Linked DNA regions of Homo sapiens: regions 1, 2, 4, 5 and 6 are each linked to region 3. Evidence: promoter capture Hi-C in 16 types of primary human blood cells and fetal thymus (Javierre and others, 2016). All regions are on one chromosome and are shown on one strand. The core of a region is centred on a gene start or on the middle of the fragment in contact, and the rest is flanking DNA. Distances in the headings are between cores, read along the strand shown.

Region 1 (5,225 bases), core at 2,544-5,043, 520 kb before region 3:
TTTTTAAAAAATCAAAAACTTTATAAGGTAAAATGTTGCAATAAACTAAAGGTAATTTATTATGGAAGAAAAAAAATTTTAAATAAATTTAGTGTAGCCTAAGTGTACAGTTTTGTATCAAGTCTTCAGTAGTGTGCAGTGATGTCCAAGGCCTTCACATTCACTCACCACTGACTCACCCACGGCAACTTCCAGTCCTGCAGGCCCCATTTATGGTAAGTGCCCTACACAGGTGTATCATTTTTAACCCTTTATACTGTATTTTTACTGTATTCTCTATGTTTTGATATATTTAGATGTACAAATACCACTGTGTTACAACTGCCTGCAGTAATCAGTACATTAATATGCTGTACAGGTTTGTAGCCTGGGAGCAATAGGCTATACCATATAGCCTAGGTATATAGTAGGCTGTACCATATAGGTATGTGTAAGTAGTACAGTCTATGGTGTTCCCATAAGGACAAAGTCGCCTAATGATGCATTTCTTAGAACATATCCCTGTTGTTAAGTGATTCATGACTCTGAGAGTGTGTGTGTGTGTGTGTGTGTGTGTGTGTGTGTGTGTAATGTTAGGACACATATATATATGTATTTCAGAAAAAAATTTTTTTGAATTATAATGTGTTATAATTAGTTCTGTTACCTGTCTTGGGTTTTCTTTATCAAGAACTTCTAATCTATATGTTGGATCTTCTTTGCCTATTTTCAATATTTATCATTTCTCTCAAATTATTTCTGTTTACATTTATTTTTGATTAAAAAACTCATTTTCAAATTGTAGTTCTTTTCAGACACTATTGTATTTTCTTATTCTTTTATTCCTTGTATTTTAGTCCTCTTTTCTGAAATCAGTTTTTCTTTTATTTCTAACTCTTTCCCAAGTTCTGTTACTTCATTCCTGAGTTTTTCTTCTGGCTTGTTTTGCTGTTTCATGTTTCATATCATTTTATATCTTTACAGTGACACTGTGCCAGGTGTTACAGAAACAGTGGTATTCAAAACAAAGTCCATGTCTCCAATAATCATATTTCACTCATTCCAAGCCACATTTATTTCTTTGTTTCTGTTTCTCTTTCTTCCCTCACCCCAACTTGGAATGCTTGTTTAAACATTAAAATTTTCTCATAGTTGATTTTAAAATGAAATCTGTAAGGGTAAACTTTTCTAGCTATAGGCTACCATAATCTTTCCCTTATTTTGAATTCTTGAATAAGTTTTCAGTTTTCTTGACAGTCTGTCCCTTGAACCTAGATCATTAGCTTTTTAAGGAAAAAAATTATGGCTTTTTATATCTCCCAGAATAAAGCCAACAATGACTCTGGGGCTGGGCGTGGTGGCTCACACCTGTAATCTCAGTACTTTGGGAGGACAAGGCGGGTGGACTGCTTGAGCTCAGGAGTTTGGGACCAGCCTGGGCAACACAGTGAGACCCCCATCTCTACAAAAAATGAAAAAAATGAGCCGGGGGCAGTGGCACGTGCCTGTAGTCCCAGTCACTCGGGCTGAGGTGGGAGGATAGTTTGAACCTGGGAGGTCAAAGCTACAGTGAGGAGTGCCTACACTGCTGCACTCCAGCCTAGGTGACAGAGTGAGACCCTGTCTTTAAAAAAACAAAGAAAGAAAAAAAAAAAGAATGACCCTGGGCATTGTTGGAACTCAGAAAACCATACCCCAAAATGAAGACCTCAGAAGCAAAAGATTTTTCCCACCTTCTCCAACCCTCCTGTCTCAATCCCATTCTTCCCCCCACCCCCACCCACAAGGCTAGTCATAGAAACTGGAATCCGTCTTTCCCAAAGCAGGGCATAGAAACCAAAACCCCACCCTTTCCCAAAGCCAGCCACAAACCTAAAAATATTACTCTAACCTCCCTGCACCCCTTTCTGTGCAAATATTGGACATAGAGAAATTATCTGGCAGAGCGCAGTGGCTCACGCCTGTAATCCCAGCACTTTGGGAGGCCGAGGCGGGTGGATCACCTGAGGTCAGGAGTTCAAGACCAGCCTGGCCAACATGGTGAAACCCCGTCTCAACTAAAAATACAAAAAAAATTAGCTGGGCGTGATGGCGGGCGCTTGTAATCCCAGCTACTTCGGGAGGCTAAGACAGGAGAATCACTTGAACCTGGGAGGGGGAGGTTGCAGTGAGCCGAGATCGCACCATCGCACTCCAGCCTGGGCGACAAGAGCAAAACTCTGTCAAAAAAAAAAAAAGAAGGAAAAGAAAAATTATCTGACCTACCTTGTTTAACTGTTGTAGGCCACAGCCCCCATTCCAGAGGGTCCTGTTCCATACCCAGAAGGAATGAATGCTGCAGACAGGCCAAGGAGAATCCAGATAGGCCTTGCTGGGTTTCTTGCCTGTTTGCATCAGAGTGTTTTTTGTCCAGTCATTTTTTTTGAGACGGAGTCTCGCTCTGTCGCCCAGGCTGGAGTGCGGTGACGCAATCTCGGCTCACTGCAAGCTCCGCCTCCCGGGTTCACGCCATTCTCCTGCCTCAGCCTCCTGAGTAGCTGGGACTACAGGCGCCCGCCACCACGCCTGGCTAATTTTTAGTATTTTTAGTAGAGACGGGGTTTCACTGTGTTAGCCAGGATGGTCTCGATCTCCTGACCTTGTGATCCGCCCGCCTCAGCCTCCCAAAGTGCTGAGATTACAGGCGTGAGCCACCGCGCCCGGCCTTGTCCAGTCATTTTTTTATACGGCTGTCCATGCTTTGTTGAACCTAAGCATACAAATACACGATTTCCCTTGTTATCTTTGGGTCTTCATTCTGAAGGCTCCCGTGTCACATAAAACGATGGTCAAATCAATGTCTATGTCTTTTCTCCTATTAACTGCCTCCTGTCAGTGACTTTCAGCGAAACTTCAGAAGGTGAAGCGGAAGTTTTCCTTTGGCCCGGACAGCATCATCATTAATATCATTAATAAATATTCCCACAGTATTTGGCCCTTGTATGTCCTTTGTATGGTGCTGGGGATACAATAACATATCGCTGCAGAGATTTTCAAATGTAAAAGAAGAGAGATTATACTGATTTAAAAGCTAGATTCTGTCCTCACCCTGGAGCTAGTCTGCATTTACGAAAACTTACTTTCCACTGCGGTAGACAGACGCTTTCTACTCCAGCGCAACTGTGCCTTTCCTCAAATCTAGTCTCAAATTTAGGTTCCTTTTCATTTTCTGTTATGGAAAGGCCCTCAGCGTATCCCAGGCTTTGGAGCCTTTTGTTAGTAGTCTGGCCCATGCATAATTTCCCCTTCCTCTGAATTATACATAGCACCTCACTAGTTATATTTTAATACACTTTCCTATGTCTCAGTGGTAGTTTCCTATATTAATATATATCCCAGTTTAGTTTGGCTTTTAATTTCTTTTCTTCTAAGGGGATAGATGCGTTCTGTACCACCTTCTCGAGTACTAATGGTTAACTGGAATGAACACAAGCAACAAACCCTCCGGCCTGGATCCCAAAACAACAGTCGCGGTTCTGCAACAGAAAAGGCTGCGCTGGCCCTGGGACCTGTCTCGGAAATACTCCTCATCCATCTAGTTTCTCCCAGGACAACTAGGCCCAACCCCACGGGAATATACAGAGAGGCCTCGGGTCACAGACTTAAAGCTGTAAAAGGGAGGAGGCGACGGTCTGGTCCCAGTCACCGACCAGCCACCGACTACTAGGGCCCGAACCCGGGACTGCAGACGCACCTCCCCGCCCTCCCTTCCCAGCTCCGCCTGGCGGCGGGCGTTGCTCCTGAGGGGCGGGGCTTCCGCTTCCGGCGGGGGATTGTTGACGCCTGCGGTTGCTGCGGTGGTGACGGGGCTGTTGGGGAGGGGCCATTGGGGGAGGGAAACGGAGCAGTGACAGGTATCCCAGAGGGTGCTGCTGAGGCGACGATGGCCGAGGGGCCCGAGGAAGCCCGAGGCCACCCTCCCGGGCAGGACGATGGCGGAGGGGACCACGAGCCCGTCCCTTCCCTGAGAGGCCCTCCTACCACCGCCGTCCCATGCCCCCGCGACGACCCCCAGGCCGAACCCCAGGCCCCGGGCCGGCCCACAGCCCCGGGCCTCGCGGCTGCCGCCGCAGCCGACAAATTGGAGCCGCCGCGCGAGCTCAGGAAGCGCGGGGAGGCGGCCTCCGGCTCCGGTGCAGAGCTGCAGGAGCAGGCGGGCTGCGAGGCGCCCGAAGCCGCGGCGCCACGAGAGAGACCAGCTCGGCTGAGCGCCCGCGAGTACTCCCGGCAAGTGCACGAGTGGCTGTGGCAGTCCTACTGCGGCTACCTCACCTGGCACAGCGGCCTGGCCGCCTTCCCAGCCTACTGCAGCCCCCAGCCCTCCCCGCAGAGCTTCCCTTCGGGCGGCGCTGCAGTCCCCCAGGCCGCGGCGCCGCCGCCCCCGCAGCTGGGCTATTACAACCCCTTCTACTTCCTGAGCCCCGGGGCCGCGGGGCCTGACCCGCGGACAGCTGCCGGCATCAGCACCCCTGCTCCAGTCGCGGGCCTGGGACCCCGGGCTCCTCACGTGCAGGCGTCGGTCCGGGCCACTCCAGTGACGAGGGTAGGATCCGCAGCCCCTTCGCGAAGCCCGAGCGAGACCGGGCGACAGGCAGGTGAGAAGCGCGAGGTGGAGGCTGGGCGGAGTAGAAGGGTTTTCGGGGGCCTGTGGGGTAGAGCTGGCACGCTTTTTAGACCTGTAACTGCTGCTTCTACTCTGATTGACTATCCTGCCCGTTCAGTTCACTAGCTATCGTTTGTCCAGGCCCTAAATTCCCAAAATGTACAAGGAGGCAATACAGTTTCTTCTTCCTTTAGACCTGGCACTCCAAATTGACTCCCTTACTCATGGGACTAGTTGTTTATTCGTGAAAAGAAATTGCTCTTCAAACCATCCTCTTCCTTTGGTTTTCACGCTCTGCAGTGAGGGCCAAAGCTAAATTCGCAAATGGCAAACCCACTTTTGGAGGGGCTCGACTGGTAATGCTGAAAATTATTCAGACATTGGCTACTTAGGACAGTGGAACTGAACGGATATAAAAGGAGATCGACATGGATACAAGTGGAGTTAGGAAGTTTTGATTGGGTCAAAGCTTCACTTCATTTGATCAATATCTTGTATATTGTGTAATTGTTTTTGCTTCTGTGTGTGAACTAGAATATTTTGAATTAGTTACACTTCTTAGTTTACTATTTAAACTATTAGACTTTTAGTTTATTTTAGTTAG
Region 2 (4,469 bases), core at 616-3,115, 930 kb before region 3:
AACCAAGTGTTCACCTTGTTGAACTCCAACATTAAGAGTTTGGGGAGAAGAGGAAAAATCAACAAAAGGGACAAAGAATAAGCAGACAATGAGATAGGTGGGGAATCTGGCAACTACCCTATCTTGGAAGCCAAAGAAAAGTGTATTTCTAGAAAACAGAAAAAACTTACCCTTATTCTGTCAAATGCTGTTGATAGGTTAGGTAAGATGGTGATAGAGGTTGACCTTAGATTTAGCAAGGTTATTCGTGCCCATAAAAAGAACTATTTTGATAGAGTAGTAGGAGAAAAGGCATGAGTGCATGGAGACAGAATGGAAGGAGAGGACATAGTCAGAGAATATAGATAAACACTTGAAGAAATATGGAAATGAGTAACTGGAGGAAGAAGTTTGAATGTTGATGGAAATAACTTGGTAAAAGAGTAAAATACTGACTATGTAGCAAAGAGGGGAGAACTAGTAAAGAAATGTCCTTAACTAGAAGAGAAGGATAGGATGCAGTGCAAAAATAGAAGGATTATGTTTTGGGGGGGCGCTGTTTATTTATTTTTGAGACAGGGTCTCGCTGTGTCACCCCGACTGGAATGCAGTGGCACAAACATGGCTCACTGCAGGCTGGACCTTCCAGGTTCAAGCAATCCTCCCACCTCAGCCTCCCAAGTAGCTGGGACTACAGTTGCATGCCACTACATCTAGCTAATTTTTAAATTTTGGGGGAGATGGGGGTCTCACTATATTGCCCAGGCTGTTCTTGAACTCCTGGGCTCCAGTGATCCTCGTGCCTCATCCTCCCAAAATGTTGGGATTACAAGCATGAGCCACTGCCCCTGGCTGGGACTGGGTTTAGATAGGAGCATGGAAAAATCTATTATATTTAACAGGCAGGAAATACATGGGTGTAGATGAGAATACTTGCACGGGAGTAGGTTCTGTAGTAGAGGACTGTGGAAGTTCTGATTATTTCAAGTTTCTCAGCAAAGTAAGAAACGAGGGCATTAGCTTAAGGTCTAGAGTTTTAGATATTTTAGAAAAAAGTTGCTCATATTATCATCTTTTTACTTGTAAAATAACTACAGCATCAGAAGTGGAAACTCATTTTCATCCCTGTCATTGGTTATTTATACCTTATTTTTCTGTTCTTATGTCTTCATTTGTTGTCTACTTTATTTATTTCTTTACTTTATTTCCTGTCTCTAACTTCTGGGGGCAAGGGTATTTTGCTGATTGTATTCTGATTTGTGATAGATGCTTAGCTCATTCATTTTCGGCCACTCTTCTTGTCTAATATATTTTTAAGATTTAAAATTTTTTATTATGAAATGTGTTAGCTACCTTCTATAAGCAATTAAATACGTACTAGTTTTCAGTTCAAAATATTATCTAATTTCTAATACAGTTCCTTCTTTGACCTGTGTTTTATGTTGAAGTATATTTTTTAATTTCTAAAACTATGAGCTTTTCTACTTATTTTTATTATTTATTTTTAGCTTACTTGCATTGCAATTGAGCCAAGCTTTGTAAAATTTCAGTTCTTCACAGTTTATTAGGACTCACTGTATGACCTTGTTTTTTTTCCTTTGCTATAAATGTTCTGTGTATGCTAGGGAAAAATGGGTTAGTGGGTGCAGTTTTCTAGCTATGTTTATTAGGTCAAGTTTATTAATCATGCTATTAAAAGATTCTATAGCTTATCTAATTCTTATGAGCCAAATTTATCACTCAGGGGCGTATGCCAAAACCTTCTGCTGTGGCTGTGGATTTCTCTCTTTTTTTCCCCTTAAATTTCAGTTAATATATGTTTACTGTATGTTTAGATTAGGTAATTAAGTTATACTGCTTAAATGTATTATCTTTTAATTTGAACTTTTAGTTCATTTACATTTAATGTAATTGGTAACATATTTTGACTTATATAAACCATATTATTTTTTGCTTTGTATTTTTTCAACCCATTCTACATTTTTAAAAAATCCTGGCATACCTACTTAATAAAGCCTGATGTTAATCAACAGGCATCCTCCTCTGGACAGTAACAAAAACAAAGAAACTTAGAACACTATTAACTCTATTAACTCTGCTTCCAACTTGCATATTGTGGTGAATATATATTAACTCTATCATATTTGTAACCCCTTAATATATTTCTTTATTGTTTCACATGCTTTTTGTTCCATCTTGCATCTCAGATTTTCCATCTGGAATTACTTTCCATCTGCCTGAAGCTTATTCTTTACAATTTCCTTTAGTGAGCATCTGCTTGTGGCAAACTTTCTCAGCTTTACTCGTCTAAAAATGCATTTATGTTGTCCTCATTCTTGATAGATATTTTCATCCGGTCTACAATCCTAGGTTGGCTGTTTTTTGTATTTTTTTAATGCACTGACAATATCATTTTACTTCCCACTGGCTTCTCCTGTTACTACTGAAAAGGCTGCTATAAGTAATGCTGGTCCTTTAAAGGTGAGGGTAGATGGCTCCCAATGAATCCCAGCTCCTGGTATTCCTCCCAGATGGAAAGAGAGCCCCCTCTGTCCCAGGGATCAGAGATGAGCCTAGCTTTCAGCCAACTCCCTTGAATAACCAAACAAGTGAGCTCAGGTGAAACTAGCAGAGGAATCTTTCAGCCAACCTACAGAATCATTTTAAAAAATAATAAATCATTGTTGTTTTAAGTCACTAAGGTTTGGGGTGACTAGTTATATGGCAACATATAACCTAAAAAGAAATTGCCAACTAGAACTGCAATGTTGTAGTAACAAAATCCTAAAGGTAGGCAAACAAACAACAAAAATCTTAAATGTATGATATTGGCTTTGGAACTGGACAGTGGGCGAAGGCTGAAAACCTGGCTGGAAAATTGTTAATGAAGCCTGGACGGGCTGCAAACAAACTATGAGTGGAGGCTGGAAAAGCAGGGAGGAACTCCTTATTGGAAACTGTTAAGTGGGTACTCATTGTTTTGTATAGTGAAACAATTGTGTCTTATCCCATTCAGGCTGCTGTAACAAAATATAGTAAACTAGGTGGCTTATCAACAACAGAAATTTACTTCCCACAGTTCTGGAGGCTGGGGAGTCCAGGATAAAAGCTGACAGATTCAGTGTCTGGTGAGAGCCCACTTTGTGGTTCATAGACAGCTATCTTCTCACTCAGTCCTCACATGGTGAAGAGGTAAGAGGGTCTGTAGTCTCTTTTTAAGGGCACTAATCCCTTTCCTGAGGGAAGAACCCTCTTGACCTAATCACCTCCAAAAGCCCTACCTCCTAATACCATCATTTTGGGGACCGGGATTTCAACATATACATTTGAGGGGAACACAAACATTCAGATGATAACAAATTGGCAACACTCTTGCCTGCAGTAACTTGGAAGAGGGGAAAATGGACCTCACTTAGATACAGTTGTAGCTGTAGCTAAAATGTCCAGCAGAATGCTGAAAGTATTATTTGGCCTCCTTTAGCTGCATATGATAAGACACATGGTATACATGATAAGAGAGAGGAACTAGAAAGAACTTTTCAGTCCGCAAGTAGAATTTAGAGGAAATCTAGAGTGCCCAGGACTTACTGGATTGTGAAATAAAATTGTTTCTCATCCTCAGTCTCTCCAGCCAGTAAAAAATTCTCTGAGTAAAACATGCTTACGATAAAGAGGAAATCCATGTGTGGCAGTAAATTCCTTTATTAAGATCCCACAAAGAGTTAAGGCAGTACTTAGTAGATCCCATTAGCTAGACAAATGGACTTCTATGAATCATAAGGGTAGTGACCCACAATAGCTTGATGTGCCCAGTGTAGACAGAGGTCTGTTTTGGCCTCTTGGGGCCTCATGGCTTTTGGAACATGGAATAAATTCCATCTAGAGTCATAAGAAACCAAACATATTTTTAAGGAAATTGTGCCTGCTTGAACTCAAAGCAATAAAGAATAGCTCAAAAGAAAGGCTGTTTCTGAGCCCCCAATCATCTACAGGCAGAAAAAGGCTGAGAATGTCACTCAGCTGCAAACATGGGCCATTTTCTATCAAAAAGGAGAAATGTCCGAGGTTAGACCCAAGGGTCCAGAGGGTGTCACCAAGAACTTAAAAGAACAACGCTATGATATTATGATATAAGAAATATGTATTTGGTCTCTGCCCCTAGTTCTTGGCACACAGGTCCTAAAACTCTTGTAATCTCCCAAATAGTAAAAGTCTTTTGTATGCTAAGGAGGTGACTGGCTGGCAGCTGCTAGCTAGCTTTAGAATGAGGTTGGTCACCAGAAAGATCAAGGCAGGATTAAAAGGTTGGGACTTTCAGCCCCATCTCACCCCCAAACTCTGGGGAGGAAGAAGAGGATGAAGGTTCTGTTCATCACCAGTGGCCAAGGATTTCATCAGTCATGGCTATGTAATGAAGCCTCCATACAAACCAAAATGGGCAGCGTTCACAGAAGCTTCCAGACAGCTGAACATGTTGAGGTTCCTCTAGT
Region 3 (4,708 bases), core at 1-2,500:
AGTCAACTTTATAGACTTTTATAGAATGAGATGCTGTGTCCAGCACAAGAAGAGAATTCTCCTTGGTGAAGGTAAGAGCCACAGGATGCGAAAGACCATGAGTGACCATGGGCTTCGGTACTGGAAACTCCTCAGGTTTTCCTAAGCAAAGGATAGCTGGACCAGATGTATCTGCAACAATCACATTTCCCTGGTGATCAAAGGTCACAGCGGAGGCAGTTATTTTGGAGGGAAAGTAGAGGCTCAGCCCAAAGGTATCCACTTGGCCGACAAGCTGCATACTTGAGCTAAACACTTTCACCCTGGTGCTGCAAACCCCAGTCCCCAGGGCCAGGGGGTGCTCCAGGACCGCAATGGCCCCGGTGAGCCAAGACACTGCCACCCCTCGGGGATTGCACAGATGAGCTTGCAACCTTTCAGTTCTCCGAAGGACCCCTTCCGCGAAGTCGACGTCCAGGAGGTGCAGGGACCCTGCCTCCGCATCAGTTACCACAATCCCATTCTGAGGGGTGGTCTCCACACCCCAAGGTAAGGAGAATTGGCCTCCAATGACAAGCTTGATCTGGCCAAAAAAATCAAACACTTTGATGGAGCGATCGCCGGCGTCAGTGACAACCACATGGCAGTCGTTGGTGATGGTGACATCCACAGGGTACCTAATGTCTTGGGCAGCGTCCCCCTTCTCTCCAAACTGATGCGCGCATCCTCCCCCTGAGTCAAAAATCTTGACACGCCTCCTGCCGTCGTGCACCACCACGACACGCCCCGTCTTGGGACAAAGCGCCAGTCCGGTGGGGTTGACCAGGGTCCCCCAGCCGCCGAAGGTGTGGTGGCAGGTGAGGGCTCCGGGGGCGCTGGGGGCGGCGCGATGGGCGGCCGGGGACTGGCGAAGCGCTGAGCCCAGGAGCTCTATGAGGTGCAGCACCGGCAGGCAGTCGCTGGTGTCGCAGCCCCGGCAAGCTCGCCTGCAGAATGGGCACTCGAGGGCCAGAGTGCGCGGGTGCGCCAGGGCGGCCACGCAGGCCAGGCAGACCACGTGGCCGCAGGACAGGTTGCGCGGGCGCCGCTGCTGCCGGTGGCCAAACTTCTCAAAGCACACCTTGCACTCGAGCAGGCTGATCTCCGCCTCGCGCATGAGCTCATGCAGCGCTGGCCCGCTCTCCGAGGCTTCGGCCGCCATGGCGCGTCCTGTGCACTCCCGCCGCGCCGCCTGGCCGTGCCCCAGCGACGCTCTCGGTCACGGTCACAGTCATGGTCACGGGGTGGGACGTGCGCCCTGACGTCGAGCGCCGCGGGCCTCTGCACTGCGATCTGCTGCCCCTTGGTGGGCACGCGCGGCACTGTTTCCTGAGGGCCTGATGGTGGACGTTTGCAAGACAAATCCACATGCGCGTTGTGTAGACCTGTAATCGTCACAGCAGTCATGGATGGATTGTGTACACTTTCAGATGAGGAAACACACCTATTGAGGACAACAGGATTGCTCCCTGTCACCCAGCCTGTAAGCGGCAAAACAAGAACTAGAACCCAATCTTCCAGCCCGGGTGCCTAGCAGTGTCTCCAATCCGCAGCGCCGGGTGCTACGGCTGTCCGGGCATAAAACATGGTCCCTTAGCTCATGATGCTTATGATCTGAACCGGAAAACACGAACACACTAGAGAAGATAAACTCCAAGGGAGGTGAGGCAGATGTGTACATTTCTTTTGTGTCTTCTGTCATACTCATAGTTAAGTCAATGTTAGATGAATACATACTTGTAAAATGAATTTGTGCATGAATGAATGTTATAGAACAACAACAACAACAAAAAAAAATCAACGAGGTGAATGAGTGTCAGATGGGGCAACCATGCTGGAAGTGTCTTGCAGAGTAATTAATATGAAATAAGAAAGCTGTTAGTTAATAATAATTACCATAGAACTTCATTTTTTTGTTTTTTAAGACAAAGTCTCACTCTGTCACCCAGGCTGGAGTGCAGGGGCACGATCACAGCTCACTGCAGCCTCCATCTCCCAGGCTCAAGCAATCCTCCCACTTCAGTAGCTGGGACTACAGGCATGCACCATCACACTAGGCTAATTTTTTAATTTTTTTGTAGAGAGGAGGTCTCACTATGTTGCCTAGGCTGGTCTTGAACTTGTGAAAATTGTTCACATTCCTCCCCACCCCTTGGCCTCCCAAAGTGCTGGTGTGAGCCACTGTGCCCAGCCTATGGAATTCACATATGCCTGCCCCATTGTGTTAGGTTGGTGAAAAGGATTCGCAGTGTTTGCCATCACTTTTAATGGCAAAACCGTGATTACTTTTGCAGCAAATTAATAAATAATTTACATAGATTATCTTGTTTAAACCTCATAGCAATCCTACAAAAATATGTTATTTTTATTGTCTTTTTTTCTGATAGAATTCATAGAAATCAAATATCTTGCCCAGGGTCACATGGCTAGGAAGTGGCTGGCCTGGAATTTGAAGCCAGGCAGTTTGACTTCAGAGTTACCTATTTTAGTCATTTTCAAACTTCTTTGCACATGGTAAACACCTGGGTCGCACCCGAAAAGTTTAATTGGCCCATGGTGTGGTCTGGACAGCTGGGATTTATAAAAGCTCCCCAGGTGATTATAATGTACAGCCAAGTTTGAGAAACACTGCATTATAATAATTCCCTCAAATGACACTAAGTTCAGTTTTTCCAATCTCAGTTAAGACCAAAAACAAAGAGAATTTGCCATATGTTGGAAAATCTTCAAACAAGGGATAGCATAATCTGTGTGAAGAATCCATTGTGGTATTATAATCTCTCATTTTTCTTTTTCTTTCTTTTTTTTTTTTTTCTTTTTGAGACAGAGTCTTGCTCTGTCACCAGGCTGGAGTGCAGTGGCGCGATCTCGGCTCACTGCAGCCTCCACCTCCTGGGTTCAGGCGGTTCTCCCACCTCAGCCTCCTGAGTAGCTGGGATTACAGGCACCCGTGACCATGCCTGGCTAAGTTTTGTATTTTTAGTAGAGATGAGGTTTCACCATGTTGGCCAGGCTGGTCTCAAACTTCTGACCTTTCGCGTCAGCCTCCCAAAGTGCTAGGATTACAGGCATGAGCCACCGTGCCTGGCCCTAAACTCTTATTTTTAAGGGGTTCTCCCTCAAATGTCTTATGTGAACATTGTGCTTAACAAAACCTTGTATTAGAGAATTTCTTTTCCTTTAGAGATCATAATCATGAACATTCACCTTCTGATTTGCTAGATTTCTGAGAAAACACAATATTTTATCCCCTGTTGAGGCCCCTGGAAAGAGCTTTAATGTAAGACAAGAAAGAACATTTTCTAATCAAATGTCATTTGACTCAAAGATTGCGTACTGGGACACAATAACCAACTTAATAATTTCTGACTACATTTCCATCCCAAATAAACAACCAACTAAAATCACATTATTTATGCAATCACACCATTGCATAATTGATTAATAACAAATATGTCTTGAATCTCACTCTGACATTTGGCATTTCCTATGACTATCATTTCCTCCTCCATGGCTGGGCCTCCATGGATTTACCCTGTGCTTCCCTCCGATATTCCTTCTATAGAGGGTCCTGGACTAGCATGCCCATCTTTTCCTGCTTCCACCTAGAACAAGCCCTGAGAGTTGTGGGGGCAAAGGGCTTGAAGAGCAGAACGTCTAGTTTCCAAAGTGGTCAATGGCTGCCCTATGAAAAAGTACCATACTATAGTGGAAGGAGAGTGGGGACCCAGCTCAGGATGGTTCCAGCAGAGAAGAGAGCACAGGGGGAGCATGAGTTAGGGGGAGTCAGTGCTTAGACAGGTGGGCTCCTGGTTGTGCAGGTGGGGCAAATGTGCCAGACACATGCAGTTTAGAAGGAATCCCAGAACAAGTTTAATGATCCAATTACAACTCAGACTACCTGACAATGATGTAAGGGAAAGGAAGATGAACAAGCCACACAGAATGGGCTTTGCTTCCAGCCTTGCCCTCCTCCCAGGGGCGTCTCTGACCACCACTCTAATTTTTAAGCTCCATGTTCTTGGCATCTCAGGGGTGAGGGATGTGGTGGCAAGAGGAAGAATGGCTGTTTTTGAATTTTTTGAGTAAGTCCATACAAAAATGAGTGGAGATGTATGTTTGGAAATGGGGATCTAGAGATTTGAGTGCATCTCAAGTTCAATGCAATTGAGTGTTCCTCAGGGTGCCACCTTCAGTCTTTTTCTCTTAGCTTCCTACCTGTTTCCCTGAGCAATGCCATCTTCACTTCCTCGTGGTTTAAATGACCAGTTATAAGCTGACAGCTCCCTGCCTGTACCCCTAAGACAGCCATACCATATGAAGTTCAATGTTCAGTCCCTACCCCTACAACCTGTGATGCCTGAGAAAAGGATTATCTTCAATAATCAATAAACCTTTATCTGCTAGCACACCCAATAGTACTTAAATTGCTGAATGAATGCTGACTCTAATAGCAGGAGAAAGACTAAATAATAATTGTACTGCCACATTACAACATTATACAGCTATTTAAAAATCTTGCTTTTGAAAAATATTTAGTGACACTGTTACCAGTAGAAGGTTTGACTACAAGTTGTCCAGGTTCTTGGCTTTTTGAACAAAGAATTGGACAAAATGCACAGCAAAGCAGAGAAAGAATGAAGTAACAAAAGCAGAGATTTATTGAAAATGAAAGTGCTCCACAGGGTGG
Region 4 (4,820 bases), core at 343-2,842, 970 kb before region 3:
ATGTCACATCAAAGTGTTTTCAAATGAAAGTATATATAAATGTTTTAAGTTAAAATATTTAAGATTTATATACATTGTTTCTTAAGACTCCTTAATCAACTTTTATTAGGAAAAACCAAAGTGCTTTTCCTACTCTCATGCACTCAATACAACACAGAACACTTCAACGCTGGTCACCAAAATGGGTGAGGTTTTCTCTCCACCAACAATCAAGCAGGTCTCTAGCAGACACCAGCTGTGTGTTCTCTAATCCAATTCAATTAGGACACAATCTACCTGGAGAAAGCGTCAGATCCCACAGGCTAAGGGCTCAGTCCCACAAGACTGCCTCCCACTTCAGCTGCCAATCACAAGCAGTAGGTTGTTAAGTATTCCCAACCTTCTGGCTATAAATCAGGGATCCCACAGCCCCCTTCTCAGGTTCAATTAATTTGCTAGAGTGGCTCACAAAATACAGGGAAACACTTTCCTTACATTTACCCATTTATTATAAAGGAAATTACAAAGGCTACAGATGAATAGCCAGATGGAAGAGATGCATAGGGCAAGGTGTGAAAGAAAGGTCCCAAGGGCAGGAGCTTCTGTCCCTGTGGAGTTGGTGGAGGGCCATGCTCACAGCATAGGGATGTGTTTGCCAACCCAGAAGCTCTCTGAACCTCATAGTTGAGGGATTTTTATGGCACTGTCCTCACACAGGCATGACGGATTATTAATTCCATTTCCAGCCCTTCTCCCCTCTCCAGAGAATAAGAGACGGTGCTGAAAGCTCCAAGCTTCTAATCCTGGCTTGGTCTATCTGGTGACCAGCCCCCAGCCAGGAGCCCATCAAGAGTCACCTCATTAGGACAAAAGACACTGCTATCACCCAGGAAATCTCAACAGATGGAAGACCACTCTGTCAGAAACTGGGGCAGAGACCAAACATTAGAACAAAAGATTTTCCTAGCACCCCATCACTCAGGAAATTACAAGGGTTTTAGAAGCTGTGTGCCCAGGACTGGGAGCAGAGACCAACATGTATATAGCTTACTATTTCATAACTATTTGTATTAACTAATAACTTCTCAAACCCAATTGCAGCTATTGTATTTTAAGGAAACTTTATAACACAATCTTTAATATATTGATAAAAATTTAAAATATATATATATACTTTTTTTTTTTTTTGAGACGGAGTCTCGCTCTGCCGCCCAGGCTGGAGTGCAGTGGTGCGATCTCCGCTCACTGCAAGTTCCGCCTCCCGGGTTCATGCCATTCTCCTGCCTCAGCCTTCCAAGTAGCTGGGACTACAGGAACCCACCACCACGCCTGGCTAATTTTTTGTATTTTTAGTAGAGATGGGGTTTCACGGTGTTAGCCAGGATGGTCTCGATCTCCTGACCTCGTGATCCACCTGCCTCAGCCTCCCAAAGTGCTGGGATTATAGGCGTGAGCCACTGCACCTGGCCAAAAATATTTTTATTGAATAATCCGTTCTTGGCCGGGCACTGTGGCTCACACCCGTAATCCCAGCACTTTGGGAGGCCGAGGCAGGTGGATCACTTGAGGTCAGGAGTTCGAGCCCAGCTAGGCTAACATGACGAAACCCCATCTCTACTAATAATACAAAAATTAGCCGGGCATTGTGGCACGCCCCTATAGTCCCAGCTACTCAGGAGGCTGAGACACGAGAATCACTTGAACCCAGGAGGCGGGAGTTGCAGTGAGCCAAGATTGCATCATTGCGCTCCAGCCTGGGAGACAGAGTGAGACTCTGTCTGAAAAAAGAAAAGAAAAACCGTTTGGTGGTCTGCAAACAGTTGCTAGAAAAACTAACATCTCCAGCACAACACAATGTACAGCAAAGGAAAAAGTAATGTTCTTGGAAGATAGCCTTAGACTATTGGCTTGGTTAAATATTACATTACACAATTGTTAGTAATTTCATTTCATTCAGTCTCATAAAACCTGCTATTTCAGGTATGATATAGGAGCATTGTGGGTTCTACATGGCCAGCACTCCCTGTCCCCTGTCGCCATTCAAAATTGGTGATATTTTTAAAACCACTTCAGGGGTTTGCAATTCTAAAAAAGTTAGAAGACATTGCTATTATTTATTTAGCTGATCCCTGTTGTTGGAAGTTTATTTATTTTTAATTTATTAGTATTAGGAGTTATTGTAAATAATTCTATTGTCCACATAAATAGGCTGGTTTATTAAGTTAGTCTTAAATTTAATCTCACAAGTTAAATAAAATGAAAAATTCCATTTTGGATCTTGTATGTAACATTACAAGGAAGTTGGCAAATGCCAGGGAATTGCCATTTCCACAGAAATATTGTGACATCCAGCGACTGCTTAATTAGTCCAAACAACTTGGAACCATTTGTTTTAATGTTCCAAGGAGGGTCTGTTTAGTCCTTTGTCCCTCCAAGCTTGCTAAAATCTGTGCAGCTTGAATGCTGGAAATTTACAAACAAACAAACAAACAAAAGAAACAAACAAGTAATCCCAGTTGCAGCTGATATAGAGAAATTCATTTTGACTTGCGTCCTCAGTCCAAGGTGAACAATTGCTGGTCTGCAAACAGCTGCTAGAAAAACTAACATCTCTAGCACAACACAATGTACAGCAAAGGAAAAAAGTAACGTTGTTGGAAGATGGCCTTGGACTATTGGCTTGGTTAAATATTACATTACACAATTGTTGGTAATTTCATTTCATTCAGTCTCATAAAAACCTGCTATTTCAGGTATGATATAGGAGCATTGTGGGTTCTGCATGGCCAGCACACGCTGTCCCCTCAGACAAGGGTGAGGACAGTAGGGAGAGGAAGAAAAGCTTGGGCTGTCAATGAGGGACACCAGGACCCTTGAGGTGCCCTCTGAAATCTAACAATCAATCAACTTGAGCCCTTCCAGAGTTGGCTGCCAATTAACTGTTTTCCCCTATCCCCACATCATCTCAACAAGATCAGTGAATATTTTCAATACATTTTTGTCTTCTTCTTCCCATGGTCTGAAGTCAAAGTTTGGGAATGATTTTAGTTACCACTTCTTCACTCCAGTTCCTAGTTTTTCTGAGATAATTTAGTATTTTTGTTTTCAAATTGTTAAATTACCTATAAAGTATGCCGTTTTATTTCTAGAGTCTATATTTGCACTTATATTACAGATTCATTGACAGTCTACCCTTAGTCATTTAGGTAGATAGATAGATATGAATAGATGATGAATATAAGTATCTCAAGTTTCATTGCTCATGCTCATTTCTTCTCATCTTCTTACACTATCATAATGTCTGCTTGGATTTGCTTGTAGTTTGGTTAGAGTATGTGCTCAAGAAAATCCCTCATTTGGGAACACTTAGGTTTATAATCTCTGAATTCTTATATACTCTCAAATTTCTTTCATTACCACATGAGATGTGATATCTTGGCTGGGTATAGAATTGTGGCTTTCATTTCTTATCTCTCAGAAGTCTACAGCTCTCAGAAGTCTGCAGATTCAATTCCACTAGCTTCTGTCTTTGCATGTGATGGAATGTAACAATGCCAGTCAGAATCTTTTTCTTTGAGAAGTGATTTTTCCTTTTTGCCTAAAGATTTTATGATTTTCTCTTTATTTTTTTTTATTCAGGAATTCTATTGGGATTTGCCTGGATATGAGTCTTTTCTCATCGATGTGGCCTGGAAATCAGTATACTGTTTCTGTCTACAGGCCACCAATATCGATTCAACTTTTCTTTTATTATTTTTTAAAGGACTGCCTCTTTTCCTTCAGAAGCTTTATTATAGAATTAGACTTTCAGGCCTATTCTCCAAGTTTCATCATCTCTCTTGATATACTTTTTTTCCCCTCAGGTCATTGGGATATTTTTTGGACTTGCTCTTCCTGGCAACTAAGTTGTGTCTTGACAGTACATTTCTCTTCTACTTATTTTTGACATTGCTTAATTGGAAAATTATGATTTTTAACTTCAGAAATTCTGTTCTGTGCTGCCAGTGACCCTCCTTATTTGATCTTTTTTTCCTCACTAAATTGTTGTCTGTCTCCTCCAGCAGCTTCATTCTATTGATTATATATTCTGTTTGTTATAACTGATCATCCTGCCTTTGACTGCTGAATGTCATTAGGTGGGATTTGTTGTTGCTGTTCAATGTTTGGGCAGAGAGGTCTTAGCTGGCCCATTTAGCTGCTTCTTGCCTTCCTAGAAGCCCAGTAACCAGGCCCATTTGTCAGGGCAGGTAGTGATTTTCCCCAGGGGCTCCTTTTGTTTCTGAATACTACCTTCTTCCCAATATCCACCATTGTCAGTCCTGAGCTCCCTGAAACTCGTCTCCAGGCACTCATATAACCCCTGGGAGAGAAAGTCCTATGCTGGTTCAATTAAACCTAGGATGTTGCTTTCATCCAGCTTTCTATAGACCTCAGCAGCTTTTTGGCTCAAGAGATCCATATGGATTGGACGTGGGAGTAAAGGAGAGGAGAGGGCCACATTCAGATAGATGGCTACATCCCCCAAACGCTTCTGCTTTCTCTGAGAGGACTTAAAAATACTCTTCTATTCATCGTTTAATAAGAGAAAAACTGTAACCTACGAATTATCTTGGATTTTTCCATATCTGAATGACTGTATTGGTTTTTTTCCTCCAACCTATTGATGGAATGAATTGTATCAGCATTTTTGCTGATACAGAACAATACTGCCACTCCTGGAATAAACCCCAACCAAGTCATTTTATCAGTCAGGATGCTTTCACCTAAAAATAATGAAAAGCCCAACTCACATCAATTGAAACAATAAAGAAATATATCGATGTATTTAACTAGAACACAAA
Region 5 (4,776 bases), core at 276-2,775, 990 kb before region 3:
ATGCAGGCTCTCTGTGTCTCAATTACCTTACATGTTAATTTGGGATAGCCACTGTCACAGAGTTGAATCAGATGAAATAATGTGTTTAAAGATACTGTGTAACTGCTTGCCTGGTTCAGCAGACTGAGTTGTCCCACCCCTTCTATGCAGATATCTTGATTCAGGGGTGCCCTGTCCACTCCATGCCCAGACAGCTCTCCAGGCATTCGGAACACCCACTCACCTGGAACAGCAGCCTGAATCACCCCACCCTTCCTGTGCAGAGATCTTGGTGCAGAGGGGCCCTCTCTGCTCTACTCCCAGGCAGATCTTCAGGCATCTGGGGCACCTAATCTCCTGCATTAGGAATTTGGGCTAACTCCCATCCCTGTGCAGAAAACTTGGGACTGAGGAGGTTTCCCAGCTCCACACCTAGGCACAACTCTGGATGCTTGGTGGCCACCCACTAGATTATCCCTCAGAGCTTGTGCTTGTGTCTGCCACTAGGGAATGTGCAGGCAAACCTGCCTGGTCTGGCCCCACCCATCATGGCCCCTGCCCCTGCCCCCTCCAGGGCTGCATAGGGGAGCTCAGACCACTGTGAATTCCACAAATCACCCCATTGCCTAAGGCAACAGAGAGCTTCTGCAACAAACAAAGATCAAGTATATACACAGCCATATTGGCTGGCTCCTACCTATAAGTGCCATCTAAGGGCTTGTAGGTCAAACTGCACAGCCCAATATAAAACCTGCTGAAAGAAATGCATAGGGCTATATAGAAGCAAAGCCAAAAGACCCTACCCTGTTGGGGTACAGTACAGTTCCTCTACAGTAACAGGAACTGTACAGGGAGAAGGGGGGAAGGAAATGGAAAGAAAAAAACACAATATTATAGGAAAACAAAGAAAAAGAAAAAACCCTATCTTCAGGAAAATAATAACACAAATTAGAAGTGCCAGTATCTCCAGATGAGAAGGAACCAGCACAAAGATTCTGTGCCATGAAAAATCTGAATATAGTGACAAACCAAAGGATTGCACTAGCTCTCCAGCAATGGTTTCTAAATAAAACGGAAACTCAGAAATACAGATAAAGAATTCAAAGCATGGATTGCAAGGAAGCTCAATGAGATACAGGACAAGATTGAAAAGTGGTACAAAGAAACTTCTAAAGCAATCCAGAAAATAAAGGAAGTGATGAACATCTTAAAAGAAATCAATCAGAGCTTCTGAAATTGAAAAACTCAAAGAATTTCAAATACAACTGAAAGCTTTATCAATAAACTGAACAAAGCAGAAGAAAGAATTTCAGACTTTAAAGGTTGGTCTTTCAAATCAACCCAGTCAGACTAAAATAAAGAAAAAATAAATTTTAAAAATGAACAAAGTATTTGAGAAATATGGGATTATGTAAAATGGCAAAACCTATGAGTTACTGGTATTCCTGAGAGAAAAAGGGAAACAGCAAAAAACCTGGAAAACATATGTAAGGGAATAATTCAAGAAATTTTCTCTGATCTTGCTAGATAGGTAAATATCCAGATACAAGAAATCCAGAGAACACCTGCATGATACTATACAAAATGATCACCAAGGCATTTGGTCACCAGATTGTCCAAGTCAATATTTAAAAAACAAACAAACAAAAAAAAACTTAAAGGCAGCTAGAGAAAAATGTCAGATCATGTACAAAGGGAACCCCATGAGGCTAATAGCAGACTTCTCAGCAGAAATATTACAAGCCAGGAGAAATTGGGGGCCTATTTTCACAATTCTGAAAGAAAAGAAAATCCAAATAAGAATTCCATATCCTGCCAAACTAAGCTTCATATGCATAGGAGAAATAAAATCTTTTCCAGATGAGCAAGCACTAAGGGAATCTGTTACCACTAGACCAGCCTTACAGGAGATTTGTACTGGAATTCTAAACATGGAAATAAAAGAACAATACCTACTACCAAAAAAATGCACTTAAGTTGACACAGACCTTATAACTACACAATAGAAACTGCAAAGCAACCAGCTAACAACTTCATGATAGAATCAAAACCTCACATATCAATATTAACCTTAAATGTAAATGGTTTAAACCTTCCATTTAAAAGGCACAGAGAAGCAAATGGATAAAATAACAAGACACAAGACCCATCTATCTGCTGTCTCAAAAGACCCATCTCACACGTAATGACACCCACAGGCTCAAAGTAAAGAGTTGGGGAAAGATCTACCACAAAAACAGAAGATAAAAAAAAGAGCAGGGGTCACTATTCTTATATCAGATAAAATAGACTTTAAACCAACAATAGTAAAAAAGGACATAGAAGGACATTGCATAATGACATAGGGTTTAATTCAATAAGAAGACTTAACTATCCTAAATGCATATGCACCCAATATTGGAGCACCCAGATTTATAAAGCAAGTACTTCTAGACCTATGAAAAGAGTTAGACAGCCACACAATAATAGCAGGGGATTTCAACACCCCACTGACAGCATTAGACACATTATTGAGGCAAAACACTAACAAAGAAATTCTGGACTTACACTCAACACTTAATCAATTGGACCTAATAGATATCTACAGAATGAATACATCACCCATTAACCACAGAATATACATTCTTCTCATCTGCACATAGAACAGACTCCACGATTGACCACATTATCAACCATAAAGCAAGTCTCAATACGTTTTTAAAAAATTGAAATTATACCAACCATACTCTTGGACTACAGTGGCATAAAAATAGAAATAGATATCAAGAATACCTCTCAAAATCACACAATTACATGGAAATTAAACAACTTGTTCCTGAATTGCTTTTGGGTAAACACAAAATTAATGCAGAAATTATTTGAAATAAATGAAAACAGAGACACAACATACCAAAATGTGTGGGATTGCAGCAAAAGCAGTGTTAAGAGGTAAATTTAAAGCATTAAATGCCTACCTCAAAAAGTTAGAAATATCTCAAAAATGATCTCACATCACACCTAGTAGAACTAGAGAAACAAGAAACAACTAACCCCAAAGCTAGCAGAAGAAAAGAAATAAATCAGAATGGAACTGAACGAAATTGAGACCCAAAAATCCATACAAAGAATCAATGAAACCAAAAGGTAATTTTCAGAAAGAATAAGCAAGATCAATATATGGATAGCTACATTAACAAAGAAGAAAAGATCCAAATAAGCAAACTCAGAAACAACAAAGGTGACATTACAACTGATCCCACAGAAATACAAAAGATCCTCAGAGACTATTATGAACAACGCTGTGCCCAAAAACTAGAAAATTTAGAGGAAATGGATAAATTCCTAGAAACACACGATCTTCCAAAATTGAATCAGGAAGAAATTGAAACCTTGAACAGACCAATATCTAGTTCCAAAATTGAATCAATAATAATAATTTTAAAAACCTACCAACCAAATAAAGCCCCAGACTAGATGGATTCACAGTGGAATTCTCCAGATATACAAAGAAGAGCTGGTACCAATTCCACTGAAACTATTCCAAAAAAAATGAGGAGGAGGGACTGCTTCCTAACTCATTCTACAAAGCCAGCAAAAATCTAACTCATTCTACAAAGTCAACAATTAAAAAAGAAAACTATAGGCCAATATTCCTGATGAAAATAGACATGAAAATCCTCAACAAAATACTAGAAAACCAAATCCAACAGCATATCAAAAAGTTAACTCATCAAGATCAAGTAGGCTTCATTCCTAGGATGCAAGATTGCTTCAACATATGCAAATCAATAACAGTTATTCACCACATTAACAGATTAAAAACAAAAACCATATGATCATCTCAACAGGCATGGAGAAAGCTTTTCATAAATCTAACATCTCTTCATGATAAAAACCCTCAAGAAACTAAGCATCAAAGGAACATACCTCAAACTAATAAGAGCCATCTATGACAAACCCACAGTGAACATCATGCTGAATGGGCAAAAACTGGAAGCATTTCCCCCTGAGAATTGGAACAAGGCAAGGATGCCCACTCTCACCACTCCTATCCAATATAGTACTGGAAGTGCTAGCCAGAGCAAGCAGGCTAGAGAAGGAAATAAAAGGCATCTAAATAGAAAAAAAAAAAAGAAAAGAAAAGAAGTCAAACCATCTCTCTTCACAGATGTTAAGATTCTACACCTAGAAAAGCCTAAAAAGACTCCACCAAGAAGTTACTGGAACTAATAAATGACTTCAGTAAGGTTTCAGGATGCAAAATCAATGTATAAAAATTAGTAGCATTTTGGCCGGGCGTGGTAGCTTATGCCTGTAATCCCAGCACTTTGGGAGGCCAAGGTGGGTGGATCACGAGGTCAGGAGATCGAGACTGTCCTGGCTAACACGGTGAAACCCCGTCTCTACTAAAAATACAAAAAATTGTCTGGGCATTGTGGTGGGCACCTGTAGTCCCAGCTACTCCAGAGGCTGAGGCAGGAGAATGGCATGAGCCCGGGAGGCAGAGCTTGCAGTGAGCCGAGATCGTGCCACTGCACTCCAGCCTGGGTGACAGAGCGAGACTGCATCTCAAAAAAAAAAAAAAAAAATTTCAGTGGCATTTCTATACACCAATAACGTTCATGCTGAGAGCCACATCAAGAACACAATCCCATTTACAATTACCATTCACAAAAACAAAATACCTAGGAATACATCTAACCAAAGAGGTGAAAGATTTCTACAAGGAGAACTATAAAACACTGCTGAAAGAAATTATAGATGACACAAACAAAAGGAAAAACATTCCATGCTCATGGATTGGAAGAATCAATATTG
Region 6 (4,939 bases), core at 347-2,846, 950 kb before region 3:
TCTTGACCATGCTGGAGGCCCAGATGCCAAATAGGACCCAGTGTTCATGCTCACATAACCGCAGGCCCTGACTCATGAATTTTTGTTTCTGGCATCTATGTTGATATAGATACTCTATTAGAATAACTCTGGGCTCTTCTGTTGTAAAACCAAGCTTGATATGAAGCGCCAGAGAAGGCCAAAGACATATTTATTTCCCTCGATCACTAAGACAAATGTCACCTCAGAAAAACCAGATGTTAATGAGCAGGGGAAACAACAGTATTATTTCATCCTTCCGCTGGCATGGCCTAGAGTTTGGCTGGTCTCTGATCCTGCCTCAGCAAATATGATGCACTTGACATTCATAGCAGTTTCTTGGATGAGGCGATTGGCGCCTGAGTGTTTACATGATTCCAGCTGATTCTCTTTCCTGCCACCCTCTAGGGGCTGAGCCAGCCATGGATGGGATTAGCCAGCCCCTCATTCCAAAGAGTAGTGCCCCCAATCTGTGCTGGTGCTCTGACATGAACACTCTTTCCTCTTCCTAAGAAACATTCGCCAAAGAAAATAAGGTACTTGGAATGAACACACAATTAAATATGGAAGGTGAGAGAAAGGAGAAATGGACACCTACCAAGTCCTAGCTCTTAAAGGAGAATATAATGCTCAAGACCAACACCTCTCCTTGAAGGATAATCTGGGCACATTAGACAGGTAGACTCTCCCTGTCTCATAGCTCTCCCTGCATGAGGTCAGCCAAGCTAAAAGGACTTCCTATTCCCCTAAGAACAACAGAGAGAAGGGAAGCTGCAGGTTAAGTGGCGTTAGCCTTACTTCTAGTAGCTAACCTGGGTGTGGGGTGTCTCTCCCTGTGCTGAGGGAGTGAAGGGAACCAAGAAGAGAAACTTGGATGACCCAGAAAAGGGAATGAGGTCAGACTATAGTTGGACCTCAATAGGACCCTCAGCAAGTAATGCCCTGCCAAACACTTTACATGGCTGATCTCCTTTAATACTCAGACAATTCCATGTGATATTATCATCCCAATTTTGCAAATGAAAAAATTAAAATTTTACATTGTTGAGTGTTGTATTCAGCATCTCACATTAAGTAGCCAAGTCTCATTTGAATCCAGGCCTGTCTGCCTCTAAGCCTCACACACTGCCCTGTAGCCCAGCAAGAGATCTAGGTTTCCTGCTTAATTTACCTGCTTTTGTCTTTGTCCTTCAAAGGAGGCAAATAAATATTCTTGAATGAAGTGTTAGCTCCCTTAGGGAACCAGGAATGGAGAATGAGAAGGATAAGGAAATAATTTTGATCTATTAAATAATGATTAAGTGCAACAAAGCTAAACTTGATGGTAGAATTTGATCCGATTTTCTGTTGCAACCAACATTTGTGTTCTTGAAGGAGGACACAGGCTTCGATGCTCATGTGTTACACCGTTCTTGAACTGCTATAAAGAAACACTCGAGACTGGGTAATTTATAAAGAAAAGAGGTTTAGGCCGGGCGCGGTGGCTCACGCCTGTAATCTCAACACTTTGGGAGGCCAAGGTGGGTGGATCACCTGAGATCAGGAGTTCGAGACCAGCCTGGTGAACACGGTGAAACCCCATCTCTACTAAAAATACAAAAATTACCCAGCATGATGGTGGGTGCCTGTAATCCCAGCTACTTGGGAGGCTGAGGCAGGAGAATCACTTGAACCCAGGAGGCAGAGGTTGCGGTGAGCCAAGATCACACCACCACACTCCAGCCTAGACAACAGAGCGAGACTCTGTCTCAAAAAAAAAAAAAAAAAGAAAGAAAGAAAGAAAAGGAAAGAGATTTAATTGGTTCGTGGTTTTCTGGGCCATACAAACATGGCAATGGCCTCTGCTCAGCTTCTGGAGAGGCCTCAGGGAGCTTTTACTCATGGTGGAAGGTGAAGAGGGAGCAGGCATGAACTCACTCACTATCATACGCACAGCAGCACCAAACCATGAGGGAACCTCCCCCATGACCTAAACACCTCCCACCAGGCTCCTCCTCCAATACTGGGGACAACAATTCAACATGAGATTTAGAGGGGACAACATCCAAACTCTATCAGCTCACTCTTATTTTTCACAATATGAGGATATAGCCCAGAGCTACTTTTATCAACTTTCCTCCCTAAAACCTTAGCTGTAGCTCCTCAACAAATAAAAGGTATATTTACAATAGAATAGTTCTTCATGCTAGACACAATATTATAGTTTTTACTAAATCTATAGATTATCTCTAACACCAACTACGCTCTACAAATAGCACTTATCACAGAATTTTAAGCAGAATATGTGACCCATTTTAACAAACTTGGAATAGAAGACTTTTTTTGCTGAGATGGTTCTATCAAAGGAAGCCAACATCACATTCAAAGCATCGATCTTCTCAAAAAAGACATAGGCTGTGCACAGTGATTCACTCCTGTAATCTCAGCATTTTGAGAAGCTGAGGTAGGCGGATCACTTGAGGTCAGGAGTTTCACCAATATGGTGAAATCCTGTCTATACCAAAAAATACAAAAATTAGCCAGGCATGGTGGTGCACACCTGTAGTCCCAGCTACTCAGGAGGCTGAGATGGGAAAATAACTTGAACACGGGAGGCAGAGGTTGTAGTGAGCCCAGATCGTGCCACTCCACTCCAGCCTGGGTGACAGAGTGAGACTCCATCTCAAAAAAAAATAAAAAGAAAAGAAAAAGAAAGAAAAAAGAAAAAAAAAGACATGTACATAGCAAAATCATCAAGATTTGCATTAGACAAAAGAGGTTATAACTTAGACTCAAAGATCTCAACATAATTTGATAAATGTTCAAAAGAAACAACTTCTCCTGATATGTGAGGGTGTTTGGATCAAGAAGTGTAATTCCTTGACTGGGTTGAACCAATCACACCCCTTCCTGGCATTTTATTTTACCTTGGGACCAGAGGGAGAGTGAGTCAGTCCTGTTTCGACTGTGGGAACAGCAAGATGTAAAAACTGGGCCAGTCTGTAGTGACAATGGGGTCCTCAGGTGGAGAAAAGCAAAACAAAGCTTTTCCTTATGACGTTCATCTCTCATTAAAGTCTTTCCTTGATAGAGCCGCATCCTTACCCTTCTTGGTATCTGGTTGTTTGTTCAACCCCTCCTTTGATTATATAAGAAAATCCAGTATCCTATTAAATCCCTTCATATGCTTAAGCTAATTTGAGTTGATCTTTTATCACATTCAAAGAAAAAAAAAGCAACTCATGATTAATGCACCATTGAACTGAAAATATATGAACTATTTGTCTCAAGGAATTTCAGGGCTATGTCAGGATTTTTCGTTCTTGATATAAGGAGGCCAAATCCTTTGATAGAGCTGCCAAATGATCCCTACCTTAAAAGGGCTCTGCAAGATCTGAGGGAGATGAAAGCAGTCAGAGGATAGCCCTGTTGTGGATCAGACATTTACATAAAAGGAAAGCACCCAGCACATCTGCATAGGAGCACACTGCCTGGCTGAGGACAGATGCTAATAAGAATCTCATACCCTTCCCCTGGGCTTGCTGAGCTACCCATAAAGGGGATGCACTAATGTGCCCGTGAGACCTGAGCCTTTGAATATCGAGATAGAATCTTCAAGATAGTATTCAGTAGAGAGGTCGTATATGAGCCAATCACATACAAGTCATGTCAGTGATTCACAATAACTTTTAGACAATTCAAGAATGCCATTTACATGAGTGAATCCCACCAGTAATTTTTTTCCTAGACAGAAGCTTCAAACACCAGGCTGTCACATTCAAAACATTCTATGGCCCAATTCCTATGAAGCCTTCACAAGCTCCTTAGAATCAGGTGCCTCTGCAGGGGAAGCAAGCAGGCAAGGGAGAAGGGGAAGGGGCAGGGGAGGGGGCCAGGAGGAGAGCCTGCTCGCTGGTTCCAGCTCCACGCAATGAAAGTGACCTTAGCTCCCTAGGTCAACATCTGCGGGTGCCAGTCCTGCCCCCTGAAGCCTGATATTCTGAAAGGAGGAGCCACACCCTACCTGGCAAGAGAAGAGGAGGAAGACCAGTTCTAGAGAAAACCTTTAACTTGATGGCATGTTCCATCCCCCATTCAGCACCACTTCCCAGGTCCTCCTGATAGTGGGTTGAATCATGTCCCACCCCCCGTTCACGTCCAACCAGAGCCTCAGAAGTGCCCTTGTTTGGAAATAGGGTCTTTGCAGATGCATTTGCTAGAACCTCGAGATTAAATTATCCTGGATTTAGGGTAGGCTGTAAATCTAATGACTGATGTGCTTATTACAAGAGAAGAAGACACAGACAGACATGGACAGCGAAGGAAGCCATGCGAAGAGAAAGGCAGAGATCAGAGGGAGGCTGCCACAAGTTGCGGAGTGCTGGGGCCACCAGAAGCTAGGAAGAGGCAAAGAAGGATTCTTCTCTAAAGCCTTCATGGGGAGCTTGGCTCTGCTGACACCTTAATTTTGGAGTTCTAGCCTCCAGAACTGTGAGAGAATAAACGTCTGTTTTGTTTCTGTTTTTGTTTTTGTTTTTTTGAGACAGAGTCTCGCTCTGTCGCCCAGGCTGGAGTGCAATGGTGCGATCTCGGCTCACTACAATCTCTGCCTCCCGGGTTCAAGCGATTCTCCTGCCTCAGCCTCCCGAGCAGCTGGGATCACAGGAGCCTGCCACCACACCCGGCTAATTTTTGTAGTTTTAGTAGAGACTAGTTTTCGCCATGTTAGCCAGGCTGATCTCAAACTCCTGACCTGGTGATCCACCCACCACAGCCTTCCAAAGTGCTGGGATTACAGGCGTGAGCCACTGCGCCCAGCCTGAACCAGTTCTTATTAGAAAAGATGATAGTGACCGGGTGCGGTGGCTCACATCTGTAATCCCAGCACTCTGGGAGGCTGAGGCAGGCGGATCACCTGAGGTCGGGAGTCCGAGACCAGCCT

What was found. Contacts are between HindIII fragments. The CHiCAGO score rates a contact against its expected background, and 5 or more counts as called.
Region 1: the fragment with the promoter of FAM8A1 here is called in contact with the fragment with the promoter of NHLRC1 in region 3 in 3 of 17 cell types (megakaryocytes, neutrophils and total B cells); the score reaches 8.9 in megakaryocytes.
Region 2: a contact is called between a fragment that was not itself captured here and the fragment with the promoter of NHLRC1 in region 3, in 1 of 17 cell types (erythroblasts). The highest score is 5.1, in erythroblasts.
Region 4: a contact is called between a fragment that was not itself captured here and the fragment with the promoter of NHLRC1 in region 3, in 14 of 17 cell types (M2 macrophages, M0 macrophages, naive CD8 T cells and 11 more). The highest score is 14.5, in M2 macrophages.
Region 5: a fragment that was not itself captured here is called in contact with the fragment with the promoter of NHLRC1 in region 3 in 1 of 17 cell types (M2 macrophages); the score reaches 5.4 in M2 macrophages.
Region 6: a fragment that was not itself captured here is called in contact with the fragment with the promoter of NHLRC1 in region 3 in 3 of 17 cell types (M2 macrophages, erythroblasts and M1 macrophages); the score reaches 8.9 in M2 macrophages.

The regions. Positions count from the first base shown.
Region 1 is chr6:17,596,509-17,601,733 of GRCh38, forward strand. It overlaps FAM8A1 (family with sequence similarity 8 member A1), which reads left to right and starts at 3,794. Exons shown (of 5, transcript NM_016255.3): 1 at 3,794-4,613. The coding sequence starts at 3,902. It overlaps LOC102724591 (a long non-coding RNA gene), which reads right to left and starts at 2,468. Exons shown (of 5, transcript XR_007059485.1): 1 at 2,245-2,468. RefSeq lists a silencer at 3,653-4,132 and an enhancer at 5,199-5,225. The HindIII fragment of the contact is 5,181 bases long and covers 1-5,088 here.
Region 2 is chr6:17,189,822-17,194,290 of GRCh38, forward strand. No RefSeq gene overlaps it. Among named protein-coding and RNA genes, the nearest start is that of RBM24, 89 kb to the right of the region's middle. RefSeq lists a silencer at 3,484-3,684. The HindIII fragment of the contact is 709 bases long and covers 1,512-2,220 here.
Region 3 is chr6:18,121,427-18,126,134 of GRCh38, forward strand. NHLRC1 (NHL repeat containing E3 ubiquitin protein ligase 1) reads right to left here and starts at 1,251. Exons shown (of 1, transcript NM_198586.3): 1 at 1-1,251. The coding sequence starts at 1,180. The HindIII fragment of the contact is 6,107 bases long and covers 555-4,708 here.
Region 4 is chr6:17,149,471-17,154,290 of GRCh38, forward strand. No RefSeq gene overlaps it. Among named protein-coding and RNA genes, the nearest start is that of STMND1, 50 kb to the left of the region's middle. The HindIII fragment of the contact is 1,642 bases long and covers 772-2,413 here.
Region 5 is chr6:17,132,655-17,137,430 of GRCh38, forward strand. No RefSeq gene overlaps it. Among named protein-coding and RNA genes, the nearest start is that of STMND1, 33 kb to the left of the region's middle. The HindIII fragment of the contact is 553 bases long and covers 1,250-1,802 here.
Region 6 is chr6:17,169,570-17,174,508 of GRCh38, forward strand. No RefSeq gene overlaps it. Among named protein-coding and RNA genes, the nearest start is that of STMND1, 70 kb to the left of the region's middle. The HindIII fragment of the contact is 2,888 bases long and covers 153-3,040 here.